Linked DNA regions of Homo sapiens: region 2 is linked to region 1. Evidence: promoter capture Hi-C in 16 types of primary human blood cells and fetal thymus (Javierre and others, 2016). All regions are on one chromosome and are shown on one strand. Each heading gives the region's core, a stretch centred on a gene start or on the middle of the fragment in contact. The rest is flanking DNA. Distances are from core to core; before and after follow the strand shown.

The links. Contacts are between HindIII fragments. The CHiCAGO score rates a contact against its expected background, and 5 or more counts as called.
Region 2: a fragment that was not itself captured here is called in contact with the fragment with the promoter of PTGFRN in region 1 in 11 of 17 cell types (M2 macrophages, naive CD4 T cells, non-activated CD4 T cells and 8 more); the score reaches 12.8 in M2 macrophages.

The regions. Positions count from the first base shown.
Region 1 is chr1:116,908,344-116,912,071 of GRCh38, reverse strand. PTGFRN (prostaglandin F2 receptor inhibitor) reads right to left here and starts at 2,156. Exons shown (of 9, transcript NM_020440.4): 1 at 1,820-2,156. The coding sequence starts at 1,868. The HindIII fragment of the contact is 4,060 bases long and covers 487-3,728 here.
Region 2 is chr1:117,052,571-117,056,298 of GRCh38, reverse strand. All of the region lies in intron 1 of CD101-AS1 (CD101 antisense RNA 1), which reads left to right. Among named protein-coding and RNA genes, the nearest start is that of CD101-AS1, 5.1 kb to the left of the region's middle. The HindIII fragment of the contact is 6,290 bases long and covers 1-3,728 here.

The DNA of each region.
Region 1 (3,728 bases), core at 907-3,406:
AGTTCTACCTCATCCCACCCTCATAACTGGTACCCAGGTTGTTCAGAGAACTGCACAGCTCTAGGGGGAGTTATTCACACAGACTACAAAGTGAACAGCAGCTCCCGAAGTTGTACAGTGCACCATCTGTGCAAACCTAGGCCATGGCCCTGCTTGACCCAGACACATAAAGTCAATTAATGTGTGTGGACTATAACAGCAGTGCGCCACTAACATACAACTTACAAGGGTCCCAGAGTGAAAAGTAAAGATTAAAAGCACTACCACCGGGTGTGGTGGAGCATGCCTGTAATTCCAGCACTTCAGGAGACTGAGGTGGGAGAATGACTTGAGCCCAGGAGTTTGAGGCTTCAGTGAGCTGTGGTTGTGCCATTGCACTCCAGACTGGGTGAAAGACTGAGGCTTTGTTTCAAAAATAAAAATAAAGCACTAGGATCAGGGACTATAGAAAAGATGCCATAAAACTAAGTGGAAGATCTGGAAGCTTTCTGCACATGGGCTGAAGCTGAAGCAATGTGGCTGGACGAGCTCTCTGAGGGAGTCAGTTCAGAAAATCCCTTCAAGGTGAAGGAAGAAAACACAGCAGCCAGCAAGGCTGGTTCATCAGCAGCAGGAGTCATGGGGGTTACAGCAGTGTGGGCCCCGGTGTCCCCAGCAGGGGAGTAGCTATAGAAGGCCTCCTCTGGAACCCTCTGACCATAAGTGCAGAGTAATCATTTGCCCTGTGTGCAGCTGGGACCTGAATGGCACGGACACCGCACATCATGCGCTCTGTGAAAGACTCAGAGCCGCCTTCTCTAGGGGCTTGGAAGAGAACCCCAGGCCAGGTCACAGGAATCATCTTGTCCTGGTTGACACTGACAACAAGGATCCAAGAATATCAAAACATTTAAGAGTCGGCCCTGGGGTACCATGGTGGGCACTTAATAAACATATTTCCGTGGCTGGCTAGGATCACCATGTGGATCTACGTGAAGATGGTGTCTGTGTATGGAGTGAATGGAAAATGGAGAGGGAAAAAACCCACAAAAGATTCCTTGGGTGGGGGGAGGGCGCTGGGCCAAAACCTCACGGGGCACCCAGGGTTTCCGGAGGGTGGAAGACGAGGGGATAGTAAGGGAGGGAAAGTAACAGGTAGAAAAAGTTGGAGAAGCCAGGCTTTTAGGTCTTTGTGTATAAATACGCAGCTAGGCAGCTTCAAGAAAAGCTAAAAGAAAAGACTGAGGCAGAAGATCTAGCCACGACGAAAATGACGGCAGGACTCGCCCGCCGATTTCCATTGTAACGCTCCGGGCCACCCTGTGACCTTCGTGGAAGGAAGTTGGAGGATTCTCTCGCTTCCCTGGAAAGGCAACTCCGCGCGGGTTGGGTGAAGAGCGACCCGGCCGGCGGCGGCTATGGCGGGGCATATCAAAGGCTCACATTTCCGCTCTCGAGCCGAGGACCCGGGCCGGGACCGCAGCACCTTCCGGGCCGGGAGTTCAAGGTGAGCCGGGCTCCCGGCGGCCAACAGGTAGGGAGACCTGGGGGAAAGACGGCCCCGGGCCACTCCCCCCGGCACATGTTGGGGGCGAGGCTCGGCCTGGCGGAGCGGCCACTTGCACCCCGCGCGCGGGGCCCGAGCGGATTCGCGCCAGGCTCCGGGCGGCCCCGCGGCCGCTCCCCGCCGGGCCGAACAACCCGCGCACCCCGGCCGGGTTTCCCGGGAGCAGCCCGGGCACCCTCGGCGCCCCAGGCCGCGCGCTGCAGCCGCGCCCCGCCGAGCCCTCCAGGGCCTCGCCAGTCCCCGTGTGCCCCGCTGAGCCCCGCGCACACTCACCCAACGACAGGAGCGCCAGCAGCAGCGGCCTCGAGGCCAGGCGCCCCATGCTCGCCCGGCGGGAGCGACTCTCCCCCTCCTCCTCCTTCCCCGCCGCCTCTCCTCCTCCTCCTCTTCCAGCTCCGGCTGCTCCAGAGTCGGCGCTCCTCCGCCTGGGCCGCGCGCCTGCTCCGCTCTCCTCGCGAGCCGATAAATCCCAGCGCTGGGGCGTACGTGCGCCCCTGGCTCCGCTCGCTCCCTCCCGCCTCCTTCCCTCCCTCCTCCAGCCGGCCGGGCCCGGGAGCCGGCCCCGCCGATCCGAGTGTGCAGCCCCGACCGCTTCCCGAAAGCAGAAGGGAAGAACCGCAGCGCCCGCCCGCGCCTCCCATCCGGCGCTTTGCCAGCAACAAACACAAACTTTCCCAAGCCCCTCCCCGCTCCAGGTAACGGAGGAAGAGCCGGGGCCACCCGCTTAAAGGCGAGGAGGCGTCGGAGCCCACCCTGCCATCCCCTCTGGGCCCCCACCCCACGAGAAACTTTCCTCCGACCTTTAAAAGTTGGCCTGGGAAAGACTCGTCTGGAAATCCCATCGCTTTAGCCCTATCCCGGGACACCCCGCGTTCCATCACGCTGGAGTCACCCACGCGTGTCTAGTCTATCCTCAGCCAACTCCCCGCTCGTTCGGCCTCTCGTCCTGAGCTAAACACCCCACCAACCAGCCGCTTGGCCTATGCCAAAAATTATGCAGATAGGAGCGAAGGAGCTGAAAGGACTTTTAAAGGCCACGGATTCCAACCTCTACCATACAGAGGCCTTAAGTGTTTCGGTGAGGTGCCCAAGGATTCACAGGGAAGGGGCAAAATCAGAACCCCGCTCTCCTGACTCTGCCCACTCCCCGGTGGCTAGGGTGGGCCTGTCTCCTTCCTTACCCAGCTCCCTCCCTCTCCTCGGCGCCTGTGGCACTGATTAGAACAGCACCCCACAAAGACACCCATTTAAAAAACAAACAAAACCCAAGTGTATTAATAGCTATAGTACTTCATATAGAATGTACTCTTAAGACTTAATATTTATTGCTCTAAGTGGACACCACTGATTGCCAATAAAGACTCATTTTTCCCCCTACAATAGAGTTTTGTGCTTTTGATTTGAATACAAAAGGCCCGACTTGGTTGGGAGAAATGGAGCATTCCTTGCTTGAAACTTAGCAAGCATGATTCAAACACGCAAGGAGCAGCACTGGTGCCCACTGCCCGTCACTGGGCTTTCATTCACATGCAAAACGGATCGCAGATGCTTATGCGGAAACTGCCCACACTGGGGAAGAACACTGCTTTTACTCTCATGCATCCGTCTTTCAACCAACAAATGTTTCTTATTTCCCCACTATCAAATGTGTGATTAGCCAGGTATCTTTGGAAAGAGACTTAAAAATTCATTCCTGGTGGTGCAACGTTATTGTACTTAATGCCACTGAATGGTACACTTAGAAATGTTTAAAATTGCCAGGCCTGGTAACTGGTACTTGTAATGCTAGCTACTCAGAAGGCTGAGGTTGGGGGGGCAGGGGGAGGCGGGGGGCAGGGATGGTGTTGCTTGAGGCCAGGAGTTTTTATTTGTTTTGTCTTCTTTCTTTCTTTCATTTTTGAGACAGGGTCTCAAAATGAGGATCTGTCACCCAGGCCGGAGTGCAGTGGTGCGATCAGGGATCACTGCTGCCTTGACCTCCCAGGCTCAAGCAATCCTCCCACCTCCACCTCTCAAGTAGCTGGAACCACAGATGTGTGCCACCACACTCTCGCTAATTGTTTTTATTTTTTGTAGACACTGGAGTCTCCCTATGTTGGCCAGGCGGGTCTCGAGCTCCTGGGCTCAAGCGATTCTCCCGCCTCGGCCTCCCCAAAGACTGGGATTACAGGTCTGAGCCACT
Region 2 (3,728 bases), core at 355-2,854, 140 kb before region 1:
GTGTTCTGAGATAGTACTTTTATATGCATTGTCACATTTAATTGTCACAACTAGCCTAGGGATGGGATTTTTTATCCCCATTTTTAAGATGAAGATACTAAAGTTTAGAGCAGTTAAGGAGGTGGCCCCAAGGCCAACTTACCTTACAGAGCTGCTCCTAAAACTTTGGAACCGGATAGTCCCCATGGATTAATTTTGACCTGGCTCAAAGTCACAAAGCTGACAGCAGCCAATCAGGGACTAAAGGCCATTTTTCAGAACTTTCAATCCAGTTCTTGCCACTATAGTATTTTTTCTTCTTCTTCTTCTTCTTTTTTTTTTTGAGACGGAGTCTCGCTCTGTCGCCCAGGCTGGAGTGCAGTGGCGTGATCTCGGCTCACTGCAACCTCCACTTCCCAGGTTTAAGCAATTCTCCTGCCTCAGCCTCCCAAGTAGCTGGGATTACAGGCACCCACCACCACGCCCAGCAATTTTGTGTATTTTTAGTAGAGATGGGGTTTCGCCATGTTGGCCAGGCTGGTCTCGAACTCCTGAGACCTCAGGTGATCCACCTGCCTCGGCCTCCCAAAGTGCTGGGATTACAGGCCTGAGCCACTGCGCCCAGCCTATAGTATTTTTATAAAGCATAAATTATTCAGCAATGCATTCAGATATTTAACCCACACATCGGTAAGTGTTTAGGTATTTGCTGTGGTGTAGAGACATGGCTCAACAAATCCAAGACAAAAACCAAAAACCCAAGTCCTGCCATTTTATAAATGACCACTAGGTAGCAGCCTAGTAACATAAAAACCAAACTGAGGCCCACCCTCCTCTGTTTCATTCTTTTTGTTTGAAGATATATAATGGTAATTCAATTTCATTTCATTTCATTTTGTGCCTTTCAAACATATGACTGTTTTCAACTTGTCCTTTGACATAGGCTCGATCAGGATGATACTATAGTGAGAACAAATGTGGTTATAATTTGTAAAGCCAAGAGACTTTACAAATTATTTTGTTATACCAATATTTTTTCAGTACTAGATTCCAAATTTCACTGTTCTTAAAATATTATTCCAAAAGTGGTTCAATGCAGGCTCTTTATCTTCTTCTTTTTTTTTTTTTTTTTTTTTGGTAAATGTACAGGTATTTTTTTCAGTTGGAGTCTTGTCTGTTACCCAGGCTGGAGTGGAGTGCAATGGTAGGATCTTGGCTCACTGCAACCTCCGCCTCCTGGGTTCAAGTGATTCTCCTGCCTCAGCCTCCTGAGTAGCTGGGATTATAGGCTTGTGCCACCACGCTCAGCTAATTTTTGTATTTTTAGTAGAGATGGGGTTTCACCATGTTGTCCAGGCTGGTCTTGAACTCCTGAACTCAGGTGATCCACTCGCCTCGACCCCCCAAAGTGCTGGGATTACAGGCTTGAGCCATCGCGCCCGGCCACAATTCTTTTTTTTTTTTTTTTGAGACAGAGTCTCACTCTGTTGCCAGGCTGGAGTACAGTGGCATGATCTTGGCTCACTGTAACCTCTGCCTCCTGGGTTCAAGTGACTCTCCTGCCTCAGCCTCCCGAGTAGCTGGGATTACAGGTGCCCGCCACCACGCCTGGCCAATTTTTGTATTTTTAGTAGAGATGGGGTTTCACCCTGTTGGCCAGGCTGGTCTCGAACTCCTGAACTCAGGTGATCCACCCGCCTCGGCCTCCCAAAGTGCTGGGATTACAGGCATGAGCCATCACACCTGGCCCACAATTCATTGTTTAAGTAAATTTATAAAGTTGTGCCATCACCACCAGAATCCAGTTTTAAAACATTTCTATCACTCAAAAACTTTCCTCAAAGCTGTGTGCAGTCAATCCCAACTGCCACCCCCAGCTAGTCCCAAGGCAACCTCTGATATGCTTTCTGTCTTTATAAGTTTGCCTTTTCTGGACATTTCATATAATGGAGTCATGTAATATGTAGTCTCTTGCCTCTGTCTTCTTTCACTTACATAATGCTTGTGAGGTTTACCCATGTTGCACATGTATCAGTATTTCACTCCTTTTTATTGCTGAGTAATATTCCATTGTGTTCATTCACCAGTTGGTGGACATTTGGATCATTTTCCCTTTGGAATTATTAGGAATAATATTGCTATGAACATTAATGTTAAAGTCTGTTTTATTGTTTTTGTTTTTGTTTTTTTGTTTTTTGTTGTTGTTGTTTTTGAGATGGAGTCTTGCTCTGTCACCCAAGCTGGAGTGCAGTGGCATGATCTTGGCTCACTGCAACCTCCAGCTCCCAGGTTCAAGCAATTCTCCTGCCTCAGCCTCCCGAGTAGCTGGGATTATAGGCTCGAGCCACCACGTAAGCTAATTTTTATATTTTTAGTAGGGACAGGGTTTCACCATGTTGGCCAAGCTGGTCTCAAACTCCTGACCTCAGGTAATCTATCTGCCTCAGCCTCCCTAAGTACTGGGATTACAGGCATGAGCCACCGCACCCGGCCTAACGTTAAAGTCTTTATATGAACATTTGTTCTCATTTCTCTTGGGCAGATAAACCTGTGAGTGGAATTGCTAGTTCATATGGTTAGTTTGTTTAACTTTTTAAGAAATTGCCAAACCACTTTCCAAAGTGGCTATACCATTTTATATTTCCACCAGCAACGTATGAGGGTTCCCAGTTCTTCATGTCCTCAACAATGCTTGTTATTGCGTGCCTTTTTTAGTAGGTATGAAGTGGTATCTGACTTTTGTTTGAATTTTGATTTTTCTATTGATGTGGCACTCTTTTTCGTGTGCTTTTTAGCCATCATCTTCCTCTTTTTAAATGGTCTTGAAAGTCTTTTTCCTTTAACGTTTGTATGGAACTTAAACCTAAGTTAAAATGACATTAATTGTTATTAATACAAAGACATAAAAAGACATAGTAATCATTTGTATAATGTTAAGTAACAAACATTATACAATGTACTATGTACTATGAGTATAGTCATGTCAATTTGTTTTTTTTTTTTTTTTTGGAGACAGGGTCTCACTCAGCCCCTCAGGCTGGAAGTGGTGCAGTCTCAGCTCACTGCAGCCTTGTTCTCCCAGGCTCCAGTGATCTTCCCATTCCAGCCTCCCGAGTAACTGGGACTACCAGAGCACACCACCACAGCTGGCTAATTTTTGTATTTTTTGTAGAGACAGGGTTTCACCATGTTGCCCAGGCTGGTCTCAAACTCCTGAGCTCAAGCAGTCTGCCGCGTTGGCCTCCCAAAGGGCTGGGATCATGTGTACACCATCACACCTGGCATCAAAACTATTAACTTTCAAGACTATATGCTGTATGATTCCATTTATATACCTCTGGGAGGTTGGGTTGGGAGATTGGTGCAGTTTTTATTTTCTACAACTAGCATGTATTGCTCTGTTACGATTTTTAAAATCCAATAAAGATATTGAAAGCAGTCACATAGAAAACAATAACAAAGAGGATGTACCAAAATAATAATAACAATGCTTATTTAAGATGGTAGGATTATTGGTGTTTTTTTCTTTTTTTCTCCCATTGTTTTATATGGCATATAATGTTATTATACTGTCAGCAGTAGAGCAGTCATAGGCCCCACGTCTCTGTACCTTCATCAGAACACCTCTTAAACTTGCCTAGTTCTCATCTTAGCTATTCAATCCTAACTTTCCTCTAATTAATCCTTTCTTTCTTATTCATGTCCTCCTACCCATTTTTTTGGTATCTAATTCAAGTTTTATACCAAGC